Linked DNA regions of Homo sapiens: regions 1, 3, 4, 5 and 6 are each linked to region 2. Evidence: promoter capture Hi-C in 16 types of primary human blood cells and fetal thymus (Javierre and others, 2016). All regions are on one chromosome and are shown on one strand. Each heading gives the region's core, a stretch centred on a gene start or on the middle of the fragment in contact. The rest is flanking DNA. Distances are from core to core; before and after follow the strand shown.

Evidence for each region. Contacts are between HindIII fragments. The CHiCAGO score rates a contact against its expected background, and 5 or more counts as called.
Region 1: a fragment that was not itself captured here is called in contact with the fragment with the promoter of KANSL1L in region 2 in 1 of 17 cell types (M2 macrophages); the score reaches 6.9 in M2 macrophages.
Region 3: a fragment that was not itself captured here is called in contact with the fragment with the promoter of KANSL1L in region 2 in 1 of 17 cell types (neutrophils); the score reaches 7.6 in neutrophils.
Region 4: a contact is called between a fragment that was not itself captured here and the fragment with the promoter of KANSL1L in region 2, in 2 of 17 cell types (naive B cells and neutrophils). The highest score is 8.6, in naive B cells.
Region 5: a fragment that was not itself captured here is called in contact with the fragment with the promoter of KANSL1L in region 2 in 1 of 17 cell types (neutrophils); the score reaches 9.5 in neutrophils.
Region 6: a contact is called between a fragment that was not itself captured here and the fragment with the promoter of KANSL1L in region 2, in 3 of 17 cell types (M1 macrophages, naive CD4 T cells and M2 macrophages). The highest score is 5.4, in M1 macrophages.

What each region holds. Positions count from the first base shown.
Region 1 is chr2:208,371,299-208,374,208 of GRCh38, forward strand. It overlaps a transcript of PTH2R not described here. Among named protein-coding and RNA genes, the nearest start is that of PTH2R, 34 kb to the right of the region's middle. The HindIII fragment of the contact is 2,321 bases long and covers 311-2,631 here.
Region 2 is chr2:210,169,678-210,172,772 of GRCh38, forward strand. It overlaps KANSL1L (KAT8 regulatory NSL complex subunit 1 like), which reads right to left and starts at 1,732. Exons shown (of 15, transcript NM_152519.4): 1 at 1,472-1,732. RefSeq lists enhancers at 757-1,391, 819-998, 1,392-2,027, 2,028-2,661 and silencers at 1,189-1,498, 1,619-1,948. The HindIII fragment of the contact is 7,802 bases long and covers 1-3,095 here.
Region 3 is chr2:208,299,682-208,302,459 of GRCh38, forward strand. It overlaps PIKFYVE (phosphoinositide kinase, FYVE-type zinc finger containing), which reads left to right. Exons shown (of 42, transcript NM_015040.4): 9 at 1,256-1,413; 10 at 2,561-2,672. Among named protein-coding and RNA genes, the nearest start is that of PIKFYVE, 35 kb to the left of the region's middle. The HindIII fragment of the contact is 2,548 bases long and covers 162-2,709 here.
Region 4 is chr2:208,322,703-208,325,863 of GRCh38, forward strand. It overlaps PIKFYVE (phosphoinositide kinase, FYVE-type zinc finger containing), which reads left to right. Exons shown (of 42, transcript NM_015040.4): 18 at 1,440-1,580; 19 at 2,209-2,335; 20 at 2,568-3,161. Among named protein-coding and RNA genes, the nearest start is that of PIKFYVE, 58 kb to the left of the region's middle. The HindIII fragment of the contact is 5,563 bases long and covers 1-3,161 here.
Region 5 is chr2:208,338,278-208,341,317 of GRCh38, forward strand. It overlaps PIKFYVE (phosphoinositide kinase, FYVE-type zinc finger containing), which reads left to right. Exons shown (of 42, transcript NM_015040.4): 29 at 231-291; 30 at 1,141-1,278; 31 at 1,734-1,854. Among named protein-coding and RNA genes, the nearest start is that of PTH2R, 67 kb to the right of the region's middle. The HindIII fragment of the contact is 7,637 bases long and covers 1-3,040 here.
Region 6 is chr2:208,354,570-208,357,564 of GRCh38, forward strand. It overlaps PIKFYVE (phosphoinositide kinase, FYVE-type zinc finger containing), which reads left to right. Exons shown (of 42, transcript NM_015040.4): 41 at 2-76; 42 at 621-2,995. The coding sequence ends at 736. Among named protein-coding and RNA genes, the nearest start is that of PTH2R, 51 kb to the right of the region's middle. The HindIII fragment of the contact is 3,331 bases long and covers 32-2,995 here.

The DNA of each region.
Region 1 (2,910 bases), core at 221-2,720, 1.8 Mb before region 2:
AGTTCTGCTATCATCAACTCCTTCTGAGGGACTTTCCAGACAGCGAGGTGACAGATGTTTACAAACGTGACGTTAAAAAATAAAGTTGTGTAAATGAGTCTTATCAGAACCTTTTATACTTTCTCACTGAAGCCTCAGTTGGTATATAAACCCTTACCACTGGCTGTTTGGGAAGTGACTCCTTACAGAGTGCTCCCTCAGGCATGGAGAATAAACTTTTCTCCTGTTAATGTATTTTCAACTAATTCGCAGGCCCTAGACCACTCAGATCTAAGTTGACAGATGAAATGTTTTCCTCCCAACATGACCAAGCTTATAGTGCTTTTATGGTATATCTGTAGAGATTGCGGTCAGGCATAACATTGTTTGTTAGGGTTGCAGTACCTTTCAGGAAATGCTCAAAGTTTAATTGATTTAGGGGACTTTCACTGGATGAGATGCCTCTCTGAGTCATCATAGGTTGCAAAGTATTAGTTTTTTGCCACTCACTGTGTGTTGTGATATGACATACTCATAATGGGGTAGGACAAGATGTCAGTTTTGCTTCCAAACTTTCCTTACTTGTTTCCTTTTTGGTTCACCACTAATGTTGAAGAAATGCAAGATGGAAAATCTCAATAGTTGACACTGATTGATTGATTGAGATGGAGTCTCACTCTGTCACCTGGGCTGGAGTGCAGTGGCGTGATATCGGCTCACTGCAACCTCCACCTCCCAGGTTCAAGCAGTTCTCCTGCCTCAGCCTCCCGAACAGCTGGGATTACAGGTGCCCGCCACTACTCTCAGCTAATTTTTTGTATTTTTAGTAGAGATGGGGTTTCACCATGTTGGCCAGACTAGTCTCGAATTCCTAACCTTGTGATTCGCCCGCCTCGGCCTCCCAAGGTGCTGGGATTACAGGCATGAGTAGTTGACATTTATTAAGTGTTTATATGTGATAAGCACTGTTAGATTATCCCATGTAATACATCACTTGATTGATTTAAGAGATTGTCATTTGAAAGATTAAAGAATATTTCCCAGAAAGGATGCTTGGTCAAGCCTCATCATCCTGGGATGGATGGGACCTTGGTTTTGGGCAAGTTTATTACAATTTAAGACTATTCTAGGTCATGGAAGTGTGTGTTAGGACATATAAGTAGTTTTCTTGTCCAGAATACTTTGTAATAATATACCCTAAGTTTGATCAGCTTTTTGGCATTCACTTAATTAAAATGTTCACAAGTAGGTACATTTTTAGAATTGTTAAGTAATATACTATTTGTAGTAGCAAAACACTACAAACAAATACCTAATATAATAAGAGGGAGTGGTTGAATAAACTAGGGCATGTCAACTAAAAAACATATTTGAAATGCAGGGAAAATGCTTACTCTAGGCAATAGTTACAACTTTTGTCCATTATAGGTACATAAAGGAAAAGAGTACACAAAGAATTCTATTAATGATGAAATTAGGAACAATGTTCCCATCCCCAATTTATACCCAAAAGAAAATATGTTCTGGCTGGGCGCGGTGGCTCATGCCTGTAATCCTAGCAGTTTGGGAGGCTGAGACAGGTGGATCGCCTGAGCTCAGGAGTTCAAAACCAGTCTGGGCAACATGGCAAAACCCCGTCTCCACCAAAAATACAAAAAATTAGCCAGGCGTGATGGCACATGCCTGTAGGTCCAGCTACTTGGGAGGCCGAGGTGGGAGGATCGCTTGAGCTCGGGATGTGGAGGCTGCAGTGAGCAAAGCTCACACCACTGCACTCTAGCATGGGTGACAGAGTGAGACCCCGTCTCAAATAAATAAATAAATAAATGAAAACTTATATTCTATAACATGTATTCTTATGTCTTTGGCTAAAACAAAAGAGAAGAAAAATAAGTAGAGAGCTAAGTGAAGTGAAGTGTCTTGAAACAGATAAGCCATAAAGTGAGATATATGAGTAAATGAGTAGTTGCTGGCCTAGGAATTGTTTCTGATGTTTTCACCTATTGAAAGAATTTTTTTCTTTTTGTAAATCTTTTTTTTGGTTTGTTAAACTGAAAAATAAAAGCAATGAAGAGATAATATTGCTGTAGTAATGTCCCTTAGTGCATCCTTGGAGTTAGTTGTCTTGAATTTGGCCTGCTCTGATTGTCATTTGCTGTTTGCTGCATTGAAAAAATTTCAGATTTACAAAAATATGTGTGCCAGGGTGGAGGAAATTTTTAACTTGATGAATTCTCACCTTTAGGACACTGTCTGCTCTTATATGGCACTTAGCAAGATGCTGCAACAATTGTCCCTGCTCATACTGTTGGAGGAAGAGGGTATTTGCAGGGAGATTGCTGGAGTCAAGATGATCCAAATTTAAATTGCAGTGGTGAGCAGTGGCCACTAGAGGGCTGTGAAGTACTTAATTCTAAAATTTCCACATTTTAATCTGGAGCAGAGGAAACTCTGGAAGGACCACTGGGACTAAGGGAGCTCAATCCCAAACATCTTTATCTGAGCCCTAAATGTCTTCTACGTTATTCTTTGACAATACTTTGTTACATCTCAGAATTTGTAGTTTTGAGGTGGAGGTTTAAGTTAGAAATAGTTTAATATATTCTATTCCAGAATATAATTCGCTTTTTTCCAAATGAAACTGGCACTAAAAGCTTTTTACTTGAAAGCAAATACACTTCATATGCTTTATGTATTTTTGTCCCTATATCATTGAAATAGTAGATTCAAGGCTGTTTGTAAAAATAAGTGACTATACTGCATATAGGAATAGCCCCACCTTAAAGACTTTGATTTTAAGGACATTAAGTGGGAGGGTCTTTTTTGCCTTTTTTTTTTTGACTATCAAAATACTTTCACATTTCTTCAATTCAAAGAACAACTGTTCTAAATTTAGAAGACAGACAAGTGAAAGAGAATATGCTGCCATTT
Region 2 (3,095 bases), core at 482-2,981:
AATAATCTATGTAGATTAAAACCATGAGGAAATGGTTGCAGACGCTGACACTGATCTAAGTAGGTGGAAACTGAGGGAGAACCAAAGATAATGGTTACAACAGATTTTAAAGATACTCAAATATATTCTATTTCATGATTAATTCATTGTTTATATTTCCCCAACATGTGGGCTTTTAAAAAATTCACTTTTGTTATAAAAATAACACTACTTGGCAATTGGTAGAGATTAGGAATCACTTTTCCTAATACAAGGCATTTCTTCTTTCTTACAATCTCTTAAGACAGAGACCATATTATGAAACTTTACAAAAACGAAACAAGTTTGACATCAGAGAGGTGACTAACCCAAAGAAATGGCTAGTTATTAAGAACGGGAAAGGCAGAGACCACTCACTGTTAAGCCTCTTTCTCAATACTGAATTATTTTTAGAGTCATTTTTTCCTAGTCAGAAATTGCCAGTTTTGTCTGCAGTGCTCACTTCACTTAGGTTTTGTGGCTAACAAACCTGCCCCATCCAGCAATATTTAAAATTATTACTGACCCAAACTCAGATGAAGTTAAGCAAACTGGCTAAAGACGAAGGAAGTTTGTCTCCTAAACCTCGCCAGAACATGAATGTCCTGAAGTTTGGGGAATCAAAAACGGAATGTGCTTACCACAGTTCAAACAAAAAAACAAACAAAAACGGACTCTCCCAGAGTAAGAAAACATTACAAGAACGTCCATCCAGTGCCTGCCCTCCCGACTGCAAAGCCAGCCTCTTTCCTTTCCTGTGGTTTCTGAAACGGCCAGGATACCGCCTGGTATTTCTTGCTACCAAACACCACGCAATCTGACTTTTTCCAGCAAGACCGGTCCCTTCCTCAGCACACCGGTGACACAAACTTGGAAGCACCGTCCCTCAAAAATCCCCTAGATTCTGCTCTATCCCATCTAACTCTAAAGCCCAAATCTACGTTTTCCTGAAAGAAAGTGTGAAATAAATAAAATAGGGGTCTCATCAAATCCAGTGGGCTCCGCCTCAGAGCCGCCTCAAAAGAGCCGTCACCACACCCCCAATGGGTGAGGCTCAGCCGATGAGGCAAGAGGCGGGTCCAGGAAACCACGTGTTCTGCCTTCTGCGCACGCGCCAGCCAAAACAAAAGGGAGGTCTGCCAAGCCCCACCCCCCACGTGACCGGCGTCCAGGTCCGCCCCCACCCCTCCCTAGACCCCTTCCCTCCCCAGCTGCCAAGGCTGTTAGGTTTAGCCGTTTAAATTTGGCTGCGGTCAGACCCCCGCCCTAGAGCGCGATCCCGTGCCGAGACCAGAGTCCAGCAGCCCAGAGGATTCGGGGGGCGAAGGGGCTGCCGGTCGGTCGCCTGACCCGCAAGTCCACCCGGCAGTCTTCTCCCCTCCCCGCGCTGCCGCCGTCCCCAAGAGGGAAGACCCACCCCCGTCATCCCGCCGCTGAGACGCCGGCCACTCGCCTGCTGGGGCGCCCTGGCTCCCCTCCGCCGCCGCACCTTCGGTCCGGCCGTGGTGGGGGCTGCTGAGGTGATCTCTAGCTGCCCGCCCGCCTCCCCCACCCGGGGCGCCGCTGACTCGTCTCCAGAGCGCGCCCCGCTCCCGCCCCGGCCGCCGCCGCCGCCGCCGCCGCCGCCGCCGCCGCCGCCGCCGCCGCGGTTTAACAGTCCGCCCGCTGCCCGCAGCTCCGTGCGGCTCGGGGGGACGGAACCCTGCCGCGGTCTGGGAGCAGTGGGCGGGGCCCGGCGCTAGCCAATGGCAACGGGGGAGGGGCAGCGCCATGCAAATGAAGCGGGTGGCGGGGAAACCCCGGCAGGGGGCGGGGCCTGCAGAAGCGGCTCGGAGTGTTCTGGAAGTGGCAGGAGCACGACTCCCTTAACTCTGGTGCAGGGTTTACCTCGGCTCCCTCGGGACGGGTTCCGTGCAGCTCCTGCTTCCTCCCTTCTCTTTCCCAGTGCCATCCCTGGCGAGGGGGAAAAAAAAAAACACGGCCAGGAGACTTCCCACCCCTGCTTTGCTATTTTTGTACCTCCGTGACAGAAAAACAAAACCCTGAGGAAAAGTCAGGCGACTTCATTCCCTGCCGTCCGCGCCGGGGCCTCGACTACTGCTGGCGTCCGCGGCTTTCGCCCGCCGCTCCACAGGCGAGTTTTAAGAGATTTCTCACAATTGTCAAGTCCGCAAGTCTCCGTGCGTTTGCTTTTATTTGGGCCGTGCGTTCAAATGCGCTCATAATTCTTTCTGACCCTCAGAGGGGCCCTGAAGTAGGTGACAAATTTGCCTTGGATCCAACTGGGTGGTTTTATGATTAAAAAAAAAAAAACAGACAAAGCAGTTTTAAGTCTCTACAAATCTGGTTTGAGTGGCGCTGGACCTAACTCCCCTCTGCAGTAACGCTGTCAAATAAACAAACGGAGTTTATGTGGAGATAGTTGGCCAGCGACACCCAAAAACACTTCTGAGCGTCTTGCACCTGGCCCCGCGAACCGCTCACCACAAAACAAACCTGCACCTGGGCACTTCCCCAGCCAAGAACTCGATTTTTTTAAAACTGAACTCTAAATGTAGCTTCTTAGATGTTGTATCACAGTCTTTCCTAAGCACCGAATTTACACATGAAATGATTTAAGGAACGAAGAGCACTAGGCTTTTTAAGCCAGAAGGATAATAGCCATTATTTTAACCTTATCAATTGGATAAGATCCCGGGGGCGGAAGAGGGGAGAAATCCAAGGAATTGCAGTCATAACAAAGCGTAATCCGTAACATAGATAACTGGAATTGGAAAATTAGCTACTCGTTCCTGGTTCTTCTAGTAGATTGTGATATTACTGAAATAATTTTTATGACCAGCTGCATTTATTGGAGCTATATTTTTTTAATTACTGAATAATTGCACCTCGATATGGGGCAAGGGAAGAATTTTAGGAAATTGATTTACTTTCATTGTAATAAAAATTGTAAGCTAATGATGTGTTGTGAAAAATAATTAAATCAGTAAGTATTTATTGGATATTTACCATATTCAAAGGACTGTCCTAGTCCCTGGGGACAGAAATGCAAAAATGAATAAAGTATTTTTTAAAGT
Region 3 (2,778 bases), core at 186-2,685, 1.9 Mb before region 2:
CTTTGAAGCATGTTTGTTATACACATGTAACACTTTTCAGACATTTAATACTATATGTTTATATGAAATAATCAGTTGCTTATTGAATTTATCTGTGCATAAAATACTGTGTTCAATTCTAAGAGTGACTCAGAGAAATGGAAGGTATGGCTGTGTCCTCAAGCTTATAATTCAAAAGTAGAAATAAGAGCCAGGTGTGGTGGCATGCACGTGTAGTCCCAGCTACTTGGGAGGCTAGGGTGAGAGGACTCTTGAGGCCAGGGGTTTGAGGCTGTAGGGTGCTGTGATCATGGCTGTGAATAGCCACTGCACTCCAGCCTGGGCAACATAGCAAGACCTTGTCTCTAAGACAACAAACAAACCAGCAAACCCACAAAAGGTAGAAATAAGATCAGTGGGAAGATCCTTAATAGTGGAAGTAGTAATACTTTAATAATAAAAAAGTGTCAAATAAATAAATGACTATATGTCATGTAAGAATTCAAAAAAACAGAAAGCTCATTACTAATGAGGGAATCAGAAAAAGGCTTAAACTGAAGGACTTGAACTGGACCTTGAGAGATGGAATCATTTTGGATAGGCAGTGAGGAAGGTGAATCTTATTTAAAGGTGTGAAGAAAGATACAGAGGTAAGAATAAGCATGACATTTTCCATGGCCAGAAGTAGGATTTTTTAATTGGGAGAGAGTTTAAGTAGGAGTCTGGGGGCAATGAGAAAGGAAAGTTATTTGGGACTACCTGGTGGAAGGCAATGAATTCTGTACTTACAGGTGTAGATTTGAAACTTTAGTTGCTGAGGAACATTCAGAATTTTTTTGAGCAGGGAGTAATTTACTGAAGCTCTTCTTTTTAAAAAACTCATCTGTCAGTTGGGTACACAGTGAGAATCTGGTGGAGTGAAAGCCTCTAGGAACAGTTACCTTAGGTTAGTGTGATTAACTGTTGTCTCCCTCTGCCTTGCCCCATCTCCAAAGAAGAATACATAAATAGGAGATTGATAATATGTGCCATTGACTGAAAAAAGAAGTATTTGGAATAGTTGGTTTTCAAGAGAAAAAGTTATGTTTGGAATTAGATGAGCAGAGTTCAAGCTGTTCCCACGTATATGACATTTGTATTAAATTGTGTGAGTTAGCTACCATAAAGAAATCCAAGTTAGGTTTCCTTTTATGAGTCTAAAAATCACAGGAAAACATCTGAAAAGGTATATAGCATTTTTCTCAAGGGTAACTACTTGCTGTTAATGTGATTGCAGGACAGTGTGCAGTTAAAAGACCTGTGGAAAAAAATCTGCCATCACAGCAGTGGAATGGAGTTTCAGGATCACCGCTACTGGTTGAGAACGCATCCCAACTGCATTGTAGGAAAGGAATTAGTCAACTGGCTAATCCGAAATGGGCATATTGCCACAAGGTATTCTGATCTTAGAAGGTTTCAATATTATTTGTTTATTTTGAATGAGAAAACATATTTGAAGATAGTAAGAGTTACAGATTTCTTTGTAGAGTTAGGGTGCTCTTTGTTTTATGTAATTGATGGTTTAGGGTGCTAATTACTTAACCCTCCTCCAATCTGAGTTTTAACCAGCAGAGAACAGATGCAAGGAGTACAAGGAGCCAAATAGGATCTTAATTTACCTTATTAAAAGCAGAAGAACTCTCTAGCAAAGGAGGATTAGAGAAGGTAGCTGGAACCTAAGGCCAAAGAATTCCCCAGCTACTGTTCACTAATCTAGACAGGTTGTAACCTGTGTTGAGTATTTGATCCATAAGCTATGCCTGTCGGGTCCTAGCTTGCCTCACAAATCATTTATAAAAAAGAGTAACAGACAGGTCCTGCTTTTCAAATACATGTATCCCCTAGCTTTTACTATTTTCTCAGATTAGCTACTCCTCCTCTCATGGGAAGAAAAAGGTACGTAATGAAGTAAAGAGAGAAATAGCTTTAAGCAGTAAAGCCCTGGTTGCAATTTTGGCTGTATATATTTTTTAGCTTTGTGCTTTTAGTCACATTATTCAATCTCTGAGACTTCTTCACCATGAGGAAAATTGTGTGGTCCTGTGAATAAACTGTGGGGGATGAAATAATAGTGGCTGAAGTGCTTTATAAATTGTGAAATGCCATATAATGTATGGTGTCATTAAGTGTCTATTTCATATATATATATACACACACACACATTTTATGGCTGTATCTGTAATATTTGGTATTGTCTTATTAAAACTAAGCTCCTTGAAGGTAGGAGCTTTTCTCAACATTTTAAAATCTGTTAAGTATAGGGTTGTGCGTGCATTGAATACTCAGTCAATGCTTGCTGTTATTAAAATTAGGTTTTGTTGGGACTGCCTTACCAGTAGTTTCTTCTCCTTTACTATAGTACCTGGAAGAATCTTTTAGTTTGCTTTAACTCTCTCGTTTCGTCCTTTACTTATCCAAGGGCCATTTGAAATTCTAACTCTGATTAGAACTGAAAAAAAATATTTTAAGGTTGTGTCTTATCTGGTACTTAACTATTCTGACTGACTTTTAAAACTTTTCATTTTTGTGGGTCTTGATTCAGGGCACAAGCTATAGCAATTGGACAAGCAATGGTTGATGGACGTTGGCTGGATTGTGTTAGTCATCACGACCAGCTTTTCAGAGATGAGTATGCGCTGTATAGACCACTGCAGGTACTTTTCAGTGTTTACTGCCAATTAGAATGTAGCAAGCTTATTTTATAGTCTTTCTTCATCAGTGGGAATAAAAAGTAGTTTATTAGAAGATGATTTTTCTAAC
Region 4 (3,161 bases), core at 44-2,543, 1.8 Mb before region 2:
TTTTTTTATTACACTTTAAGTTCTAGGGTACATGTGCACAATGTGCAGGTTTGTTACATATGTATACATATGCCATGTTCATGTGTTGCACCCATTAACTTGTCATTTACATTAGGTATATCTCCTAATGCTATCCCTCCCCCCTCCCCCACCCCATGACAGGCCCCCGTGTATGATGTTCCCCTTCCTGTGTCCAGGTGTTCTCAATGTTGAATTCCCACCTATGAGTGAGAACATGCGGTGTTTGGTTTTTTGTCCTTGTGATAGTTTGCTGAGAATGTTGGTTTCCAGCTTCATCCATGTCCCTACAAAGGACATGAACTCATCCTTTTTTATGGCTGCAGAGTATTCCATGGTGTGTATGTGCCACATTTTCTTTTTTATTTTTATTTTATTTTTTATTTTATTATTATTAGTAGTAGTATACTTTAAGTTTTAGGGTACATGTGCACAATGTGCAGGTTAGTTACATATGTATACATGTGCCGTGCTGGTGTGCTGTACCCATTAACTCGTCATTTAGCATTAGGTATATCTCCTAATGCTATTCCTCCCCCCTCCCCCCACCCCACAACAGTCCCCAGAGTGTGATGTTCCCCTTCCTGTGTCCATGTGTTCTCATTGTTCAATTCCCATGTATGAGTGAGAACATGTGGTGTTTGGTTTTTTGTCCTTGCGATAGTTTACTGAGAATGATGATTTACAATTTCATCCACGTCCCTACAAAGGACATGAACTCATCCTTTTCTCTGGCTGCAGAGTATTCCATGGTGTGTATGTGCCACATTTTCTTAATCCAGTCTATCATTGTTGGACATTTGGGTTGGTTCCAAGTCTTTGCTATTGTGAATAGTGCCGCAATAAACATACTTGTGCATGTGTCTTTATAGCAGCATGATTTATAATCCTTTGGGTATATACCCAGTAATGGGATGGCTGGGTCAAATGGTATTTCTAGTTCTAGATCCCTGAGGAATCACCACACTGTCTTCCACAATGTTGAACTAGTTTACAGTCCCACCAACAGTGTAAAAGTGTTCCTATTTCTCCACATCCTCTCCAGCACATGTTGTTTCCTGACTTTTTAATGATTGCCATTCTATCTGGTGTGAGATGGTATCTCATTGTGGTTTTGATTTGCATTTCTCTGATGGCCAGTGATGATGAGCATTTTTTCATGTGTCTGTTGGGTGCATAAATGTCTTCTTTTGAGAAGTGTCTGTTCATGTGCTTCGCCCACTTTTTGATGGGGTTGTTTGTTTTTTTCTTGTAAATTTGTTTGAGTTTTTTGTAGATTCTGGATATTAGCCCTTTGTCAGATGAGTAGATTGCAAAAATTTTCTCCCATTCTGTAGGTTGCCTGTTCACTCTGATGATATTTTAATATGTCCAGATACTGCATTTTACCAGGTGTAATATTTCTGATTTATCTTACTTAGGAAAGGGAATTCTTGAAGAATTATGTCCAGCGAATAGTTGATGTTCGACCCACCTTGGTTCTTGTTGAGAAAACAGTGTCTCGGATTGCCCAGGACATGTTATTGGAACATGGCATTACTTTGGTCATTAATGTAAAGTCAGTGAGTGTTTTTAATTTTCTATTGTATTTTAAAAAAATCACAGCTTTTAAATTTATATGCACGTATGGTAGGTATACAAGAATCTTTTTTTCTTTGCTGTTCTATTTGTATTGAAAGTGGGACAGAAGATATGGCACCTATTTCATTAAGATTCAGAATTTCAGACTGGAACTGGAAGAAAGTATAATTGATTATGTAATACTTATTGGTGTCTACAAGACCAAAAGTGAAATGGACATTAGTTAATCACTAGGTATTTGTTGATCCTTCATTTTTGTTGGAGAATTGCTCAAGCAGAAGACGTTCTCTCCCTTGAAAAGTTTACCCTGTGCAGAACAGGGGCCAATTCTAGGAAGTTGTTTTTCTCCCCACATTATCTTGTGGTAATCCATGATGCTTAAGTGCATTTTTATAATGTTATTAATATGAGTAAGGTTTCAGTGGGCATATATTGATTACTAAGCAACTAAGTGTAGAAGAATCCAGAATAAAAAAATTCATCATATATTTATTAAAAAGGAAATTTGTGAATGTTATTTTTTAATTTTTCCATTACTTTTCCAGATTAAATTTACAAAGATTTTTATTCTTCTCTAGTTTTGTAATACAATGTTTTTCTGTTTTGTAGCAAGTTTTGGAACGAATCAGTCGAATGACCCAAGGTGATTTAGTGATGTCAATGGACCAGCTGCTTACGAAACCACACCTGGGCACTTGTCACAAATTTTATATGCAGATATTTCAGTTGCCTAATGGTGAGTGATCTTTAGCATAGATTGACCTGAGGAAAAGAGTTAACTTATCACTACTACAATGTTTACTTACTAGGAAATACCTATTAATAGTGGGTAAGTGAGGATAGGCAACTGTGATCTTATTCATGTAAGAGTTTTTCTTTTACAGATATTAAGAGAGTGAATTAATTCTATTTGTACTTCTGGATTGCCACCTCCACCATCTTAACTTTCTGTTTGTTTTTGTTTGTAGAACAAACCAAGACACTGATGTTTTTTGAAGGTTGTCCACAGCACCTAGGCTGTACAATCAAGCTAAGAGGAGGCTCTGATTATGAGCTGGCTCGAGTTAAGGAGATCCTAATATTTATGATCTGTGTTGCTTATCATTCTCAACTAGAAATATCCTTTCTCATGGATGAATTTGCTATGCCTCCCACATTAATGCAAAACCCTTCATTCCATTCCCTGATTGAGGGACGAGGGCATGAGGGGGCTGTCCAAGAGCAGTACGGTGGAGGTTCCATCCCCTGGGATCCTGACATCCCTCCTGAGTCTCTGCCCTGTGATGATAGCAGTTTGCTGGAATTGAGGATTGTGTTTGAGAAGGGTGAGCAGGAAAATAAAAATCTTCCGCAGGCTGTTGCCTCTGTGAAGCATCAAGAACATAGCACAACAGCTTGCCCGGCGGGTCTCCCTTGTGCTTTCTTTGCACCTGTACCGGAATCATTGTTGCCACTCCCTGTGGATGACCAACAAGATGCTTTAGGCAGCGAGCAGCCAGAGACTTTGCAGCAAACAGTTGTGCTGCAGGATCCCAAAAGCCAGATAAGAGCCTTTAGAGACC
Region 5 (3,040 bases), core at 477-2,976, 1.8 Mb before region 2:
TATAAATGAGTTCATGCACATTTAATAACTTTCTCTGTTTTAATTTCTAATAAGGTAAAAATTTCTAAGGTAAACAAAAGCTAATTAAAAATATTAAGGGGGTTTTTAGTAATTTTTTAACGGTATAAATGGGTCCTGAGACCAAAAAGTTTAAGATTCACTGGATTAAAAAATTTTTTGAATGTGATTTTCATGTTTTCCATAAGAACAAAGTATTTACTTCTCTACAGATAAGTGCGATGGATGCATCTCCACGGAATATTTCTCCAGGACTTCAGAATGGAGAAAAAGGTTGGTTCTTGAGTCTGGTGATCACTTGCCGTAGGATTTAAAGAAATTTCTTATTGTATAAGTTGTTTTAAACTGTTTGAGCAGTTTTTCCGATGCTGTTGTTCATAGACTTCTTTTCCTTCCTGTAGAGCACTTGTAATCCTATCAGATTAAGATTATCATATAGTGTATTGCAATAAGATAAATCAGGTTATAGAAATACATGAAATATAAAGAAGGCTGCTATTAGGGGAAGAAAAAACAGAAAAAAGTAAATTGAATTTTTTTTGCTTATTACAAAGTCAATCCCCAGGTTTCATTGCAAAAATCTTATAAAGTTTAATTTACATTTTTAATGTCACTAAAATATTGTCTAGACCTAAGATGTCTTTCACAGTATTTCATTGAATAACTTGGTGTCATCATAGAAACTTTGTGGGGAAATTTACATAGACTGTAGAACCAGGAGCTCAACTTACAATTCTTGGCATTTTTCTATTATAATTGCTTTTTCTCTCCCAGAATAAGCATGCCGTCTTTCTCAGAGTGTCCTAATTTCATTCTCTATTAAACTAAAAACTAATATTTAGGTAGGCATTGTGGTATAATGGATAGCGTGTTGGATAGGAGTCAGTCTTGGTTGACAGTTGCGGTACTGCTACCAGGATTTGATTGTAGTCAAGTCATATATAATCTTTCTGGATTTTTGTGTCCATTTCTATGACATGAGCTATATGACCTAGATGATTTTTAAAAAGTAAAAATTCTACCTTTTAGGAAGTAGGCATATGAATGAGCATTTAAAAAATATTAGGTAGACATGGACTTAATGTATGTAAATGACTCATTTAAGATTGTGTTTTTCTTTAGAGGATCGCTTCTTAACAACTTTGTCCAGCCAGAGCTCCACCAGTTCTACTCATCTCCAATTGCCTACGCCACCTGAAGTCATGTCTGAACAGTCAGTGGGAGGGCCCCCTGAGCTAGATACAGCCAGCAGTTCCGAAGGTAGAGGTTAAGTCACTTTTACCATATTTCATTGTATCTAAGACTGAAAGATATATCATTGATTTACATGAATTACAGCCATTTCTCTAAGGACAGATATTTGCTTCATAATAACAGATTCATGCCTTGCTTTCTGTTTAGGTGGTAACTACTTAAATTATAGTATAAACTTTGAAATTAACTTTAAAATTGCTATTTAACTCGGGTGTAATAGCCACAGTGCTTCAGAGATGTTTAAAAAAAACAAGTGTCCCTTGGAGTCCATGCTGTGTATGCTTCACTGTTGTTTCCTGTTTTATCCCATAGTGGTCTTTTCCCTTGATCAGAAATTTTAAACTGTTATTGGTATAGTATACATATGTCCATATTCCGAAAGGAAAAGAACCAAAGTCAGCAGTTTATACTTCTTATTCTCTGTGAATATTAATATATAAGTAGACTATTTTTCATTTTAGATGTGTTTGATGGGCATTTGCTGGGATCCACAGACAGCCAAGTGAAGGAAAAGTCAACCATGAAAGCCATCTTTGCAAATTTGCTTCCAGGAAATAGCTATAATCCTATTCCATTTCCTTTGTAAGTATTATTAAAACCAGTGGCTCTTAGCAGGGGGGTTATTTTTCCTTAGTTGCTCGCTTCATATTTAAATATATTTATCTGATGCATGATTTTTCAATCCTAAATTTTATTTCATTTTAGTAAAAGAGATGTCTTTTGATACAATGTAATTTGTAGAATATATAATCATTATGATATAGTAGATGAGTGGATAAAGCACTAGCCAGTGTTACTTATAAATGTTTGAATTACTTGTTCTGGAAACACTTGTTTGTTTATCTTTTTTCAAAGATATGTGGCTATATCCACTGATTTAATAATTATAAAAACATATTGCTGGTTATATATGAGGTTGGTAGTTGATTTGCTGGGACATGGCATTGTCCTAGCACTGATGATGAACTACAGTGACTTGTACAAGTTTTCATGTGATCTTTTTTTTATGGGGTGCACTCAAATTTGGAAAGAATATAGGCTGGCTGTGAAAGTTTATTTTTCTTCCACTGGTTGACCCATGTGGCTATCAAATGCTGCCCTTGTTATGGAACAAGTATATCCAAAAAGTGGACATTTTTGTTAATAAGGCCTTTTATTTTATTAACTGACTTACATATTTATTCAATCAGTATTTAAACTTTTATTTAGTGCCTGTTTAAGTGTCCTGTGATGTAGAATAAGATTTGTAAGGAACTGTCATCACTCTTAGGAGCTCATAATCTTTGGGAAGATACAGTTAGGGCTCACAGTACAGTATGTGATATGTTACATGACAGTAAAATATAAAAGGTCCCTTTTTTCTCTACTTTAGACCTGATTATATCAGTTTCTTGATTGGGCTTGGATCCCTCTTATGTTATGGTCTTTGTTCATGCTCTCACATTTATTTTTATTTTTTTAATTTTTATTATTTTTGAGACAGAGTCTCCCTCTGTCACCCAGGCTGGAATGTAGTGGTGTGATCTTGGCTCATTGCAACCTCTGCCTCCTAGATTCAAGTGATTCTCCTGCCTCAGCTTCCCAAGTAACTGGGACTGCAGGTGTGCGCCACCACACCTGGCTAATTTTCGTATTTTTAGTAGAGACGAGGTTTCACCATATTGGCCAGGCTGCTCTCGAACTCCTGACCTCAGGTGATCTGCCCACCTCTGTCTCCCAAAGTACTGAGCTACTGGACCCGGCCCTTTAAACTTTTTTTTTTAATATA
Region 6 (2,995 bases), core at 447-2,946, 1.8 Mb before region 2:
GATTATATTCGAACATTTACATGGGACAAAAAGCTTGAGATGGTTGTGAAATCAACAGGAATTTTAGGTGGACAAGGTGAGAATTTTTGTTTTGTTTAAATTGTTCACATGTATTTCTTATCAGTTAAAATTTTAAAAGTGGATACTGATTCTTTTTTTTAGTTGTAAAAAATAAGTGGTTATCATTGATTTCATTGTCATTTCTAAAGTGACCAAACAATAATGAGAATTATATAGGTGGGGAAATATTGGGTGTAAATATGTGTTAAAATGTCAGAGGTTCTCAAAAAGATTTTTTAAAAAGCCAGATGTTCTGAATAAGAGATTGTCTTTAATTAACACTTGAGACTTCCAAGTTCTCTAAGCACTGTTAGCCTCATTTGTGCTCTTAGACATCGCTCATCTCTAGGCAGGAGCTAGTCTTTTTAAACAGAAACTCGTACCAGGTAGGACTTTGTCCCATGGCATGTGGCACAACAGATAACCTTTCCTGCCCACTCAGACTGCTTCTGCATGTGTATCTTTATGGCAGTTTATATGAAAGAACATGGTCAGTTGACTTCAGTTGCCCAATCAATTATATAACAGCTTTTTCCCCCTTTTCTCTTTCATAATCTCAGGTAAAATGCCAACAGTGGTGTCTCCGGAGTTGTACAGGACTAGGTTTTGTGAGGCAATGGACAAGTATTTCCTAATGGTACCAGACCACTGGACAGGCTTGGGTCTGAATTGCTGAAATCAAGCACATATTTTGAAATGGACTGTGAAGGAAAAGGGGACAGGAACAAAGGACCAAAAATAAGCTACATGTTTTATTTCTTCATCGTGTTCACCACTGTATGCCAAGGCTTTTCAGTTCTGTGGCTGTTTAGACTGTCCGTAATGGAATGGTAAAACTCCATGAATTTGCACTTTGGTTTTTGATACCTGTGGAGCTGTCTGTAGGTTGGGAAGTGGCATGAAAATTTTCTTAAGCTAAAATACAGACATGTTTCAAAGGGCTAAAGTTGGAGATGAGTAGATAGGGTGAAAAATGGGTTAAATTTGCTAGCTTAATTGTTTTAAGAAGAAAACAGTGTCTCATAAATTGACTATCCTGGCATCACATTTAACATGTTATCTACTTAGAAAGCATTTGTAGAGCTGCTGAATTTGTTTTGTGTTTTTCTGTAATAATTTAATGTTACTTATTATCAGAATTTCTGAAACCTTTACAAAAATTCTGATTTATTCCATTAATGGCCGGTTAAACACGTGGGCATTTATTGTTTTATTGAGGAATTTGACTTAAACTGGGAATCCTGTCATGTTGTTTATCTTTCCAGCTTGCCTGTTTTTGAGTATGTTTGATGTTTTTAAAATTTTGTCTTCTCTGTGGAAGACAGGAGGCTACAGCAATTAACTTTAAGCCTCCTTTTAGAGATATTTTTAAAACTTGTTTAAAATTTTTGTGCAATTCATATATTAAATTGCACTTACTTGCATACGCTCATATTCTAGGGTTTTTTCTCTATTTTTAGGGTATCATAGTAAATCATTAGTAAATGAGTCTGTAGTTACTAAACCCTAATGGAATAATTATTAATGAAAGATTTTTGAAATATAAAAAATAAATTAGGCCCAATCCAAGAAATTGAGTGAGAAGGAAACACTTGTTTTATTCACAGAGGTAAAGTGTCTTTTCAATATAACCAGCAATTTAGGTGGCATCTATAAAATAAAAAATTTCTACTGTGGACATCCCCTTTTCCAACTTTCTACATAATGGCTAGTTCTGACTACTAAGAAATGTTAAGAAATAGGCCAAGTGCGGTGGCTCACGCCTATAATCCTATCACTTTGGGAGGCCTAGGCAGGCAGATCACCTGAGGTCAGGAGTTCAAGACCAGCCTGGCCAACATGACGAAACCCCATCTCTACTAAAAAGACAAAAAATTAGCTGGGCATGGTGGCATATACCTGTAACCCCAACTACTTGGGTGGCTGAGGCAGGAGAATTGTTTGAACCTGGGAGGCGGAGGCTGCAGTGAGCTGGGATTACACCATTGCATTCCAGCCTGGGCAACAGAGCAAGACTGTCTCAAAAAACAAAACGAAACAAAAAAAGAAAGTTATTCTTAGTAAGGAACTTCTTGTTTAATAGCATTTTTGTTTATTTTAAAAAGTGATCAGAAGTAGTAAACTATCTTTGAGGAAATACTGTAACCCCAGAATATTTCCTCTTGACTTCTTTTTGTAACAAGGATAATTTAGGGATTTATAAAGTTGTAAGGATTTCACTGTTTTTGGACTGCCTATAATAATAGCACATTAACCTTCACATAATAAGAAATCTGGACAAGTTCAGTTACACAGTATGATGAATACTTGAATTAGGAACATTGTGGAAAATTTGCTTTAGAGAATCAAGGCAGTAGTTTGGTATTTGGTGCTTATTAAAAATGTGGTTTGTTTTGAACTGGAAGCAAGTTGACCAAGGACTTATGACTAATGTGATGCTAAGTTCCACTTGGCCCCTTTTAAAAACGTGTATGTGCCTTTTGAAGATACACAAAACACTGAGGATTTTAGTTTTGAAATCAAAGACTATTAAAGGAGCTGTACAGAGGTAAAAAAATAAATGTGGAACATTATTAACTTACTTTGTGTCTAGGAACAATGGATTTTGTATCTGATTTAAAATGCCAACACTGTTTTGTCTCTGTTCATTTTTTCTGTGAGGATACTTAAGGTTATTATTCCTGTCTGTTTCCTGTACTCCCCTAGTCATGAGCACTTGAAGTACAAGGTGTCTCCCCCTAGGTGCAATTAGGTTGTTTCTTTGTTTTTAGTTTCAATTCTATGTGCATAGCAGGAATGCTCCACAGGAATGGCTTCTGACAATAATCTGTCCTGTTGATTTTGTTTTCCTTGCCCATGACTTGAACAACTGTGTTTTAAAGTACTGTAGTCTAGTAGGTAACTTTGTGGCAAAAATTTTCAATATAATACATTC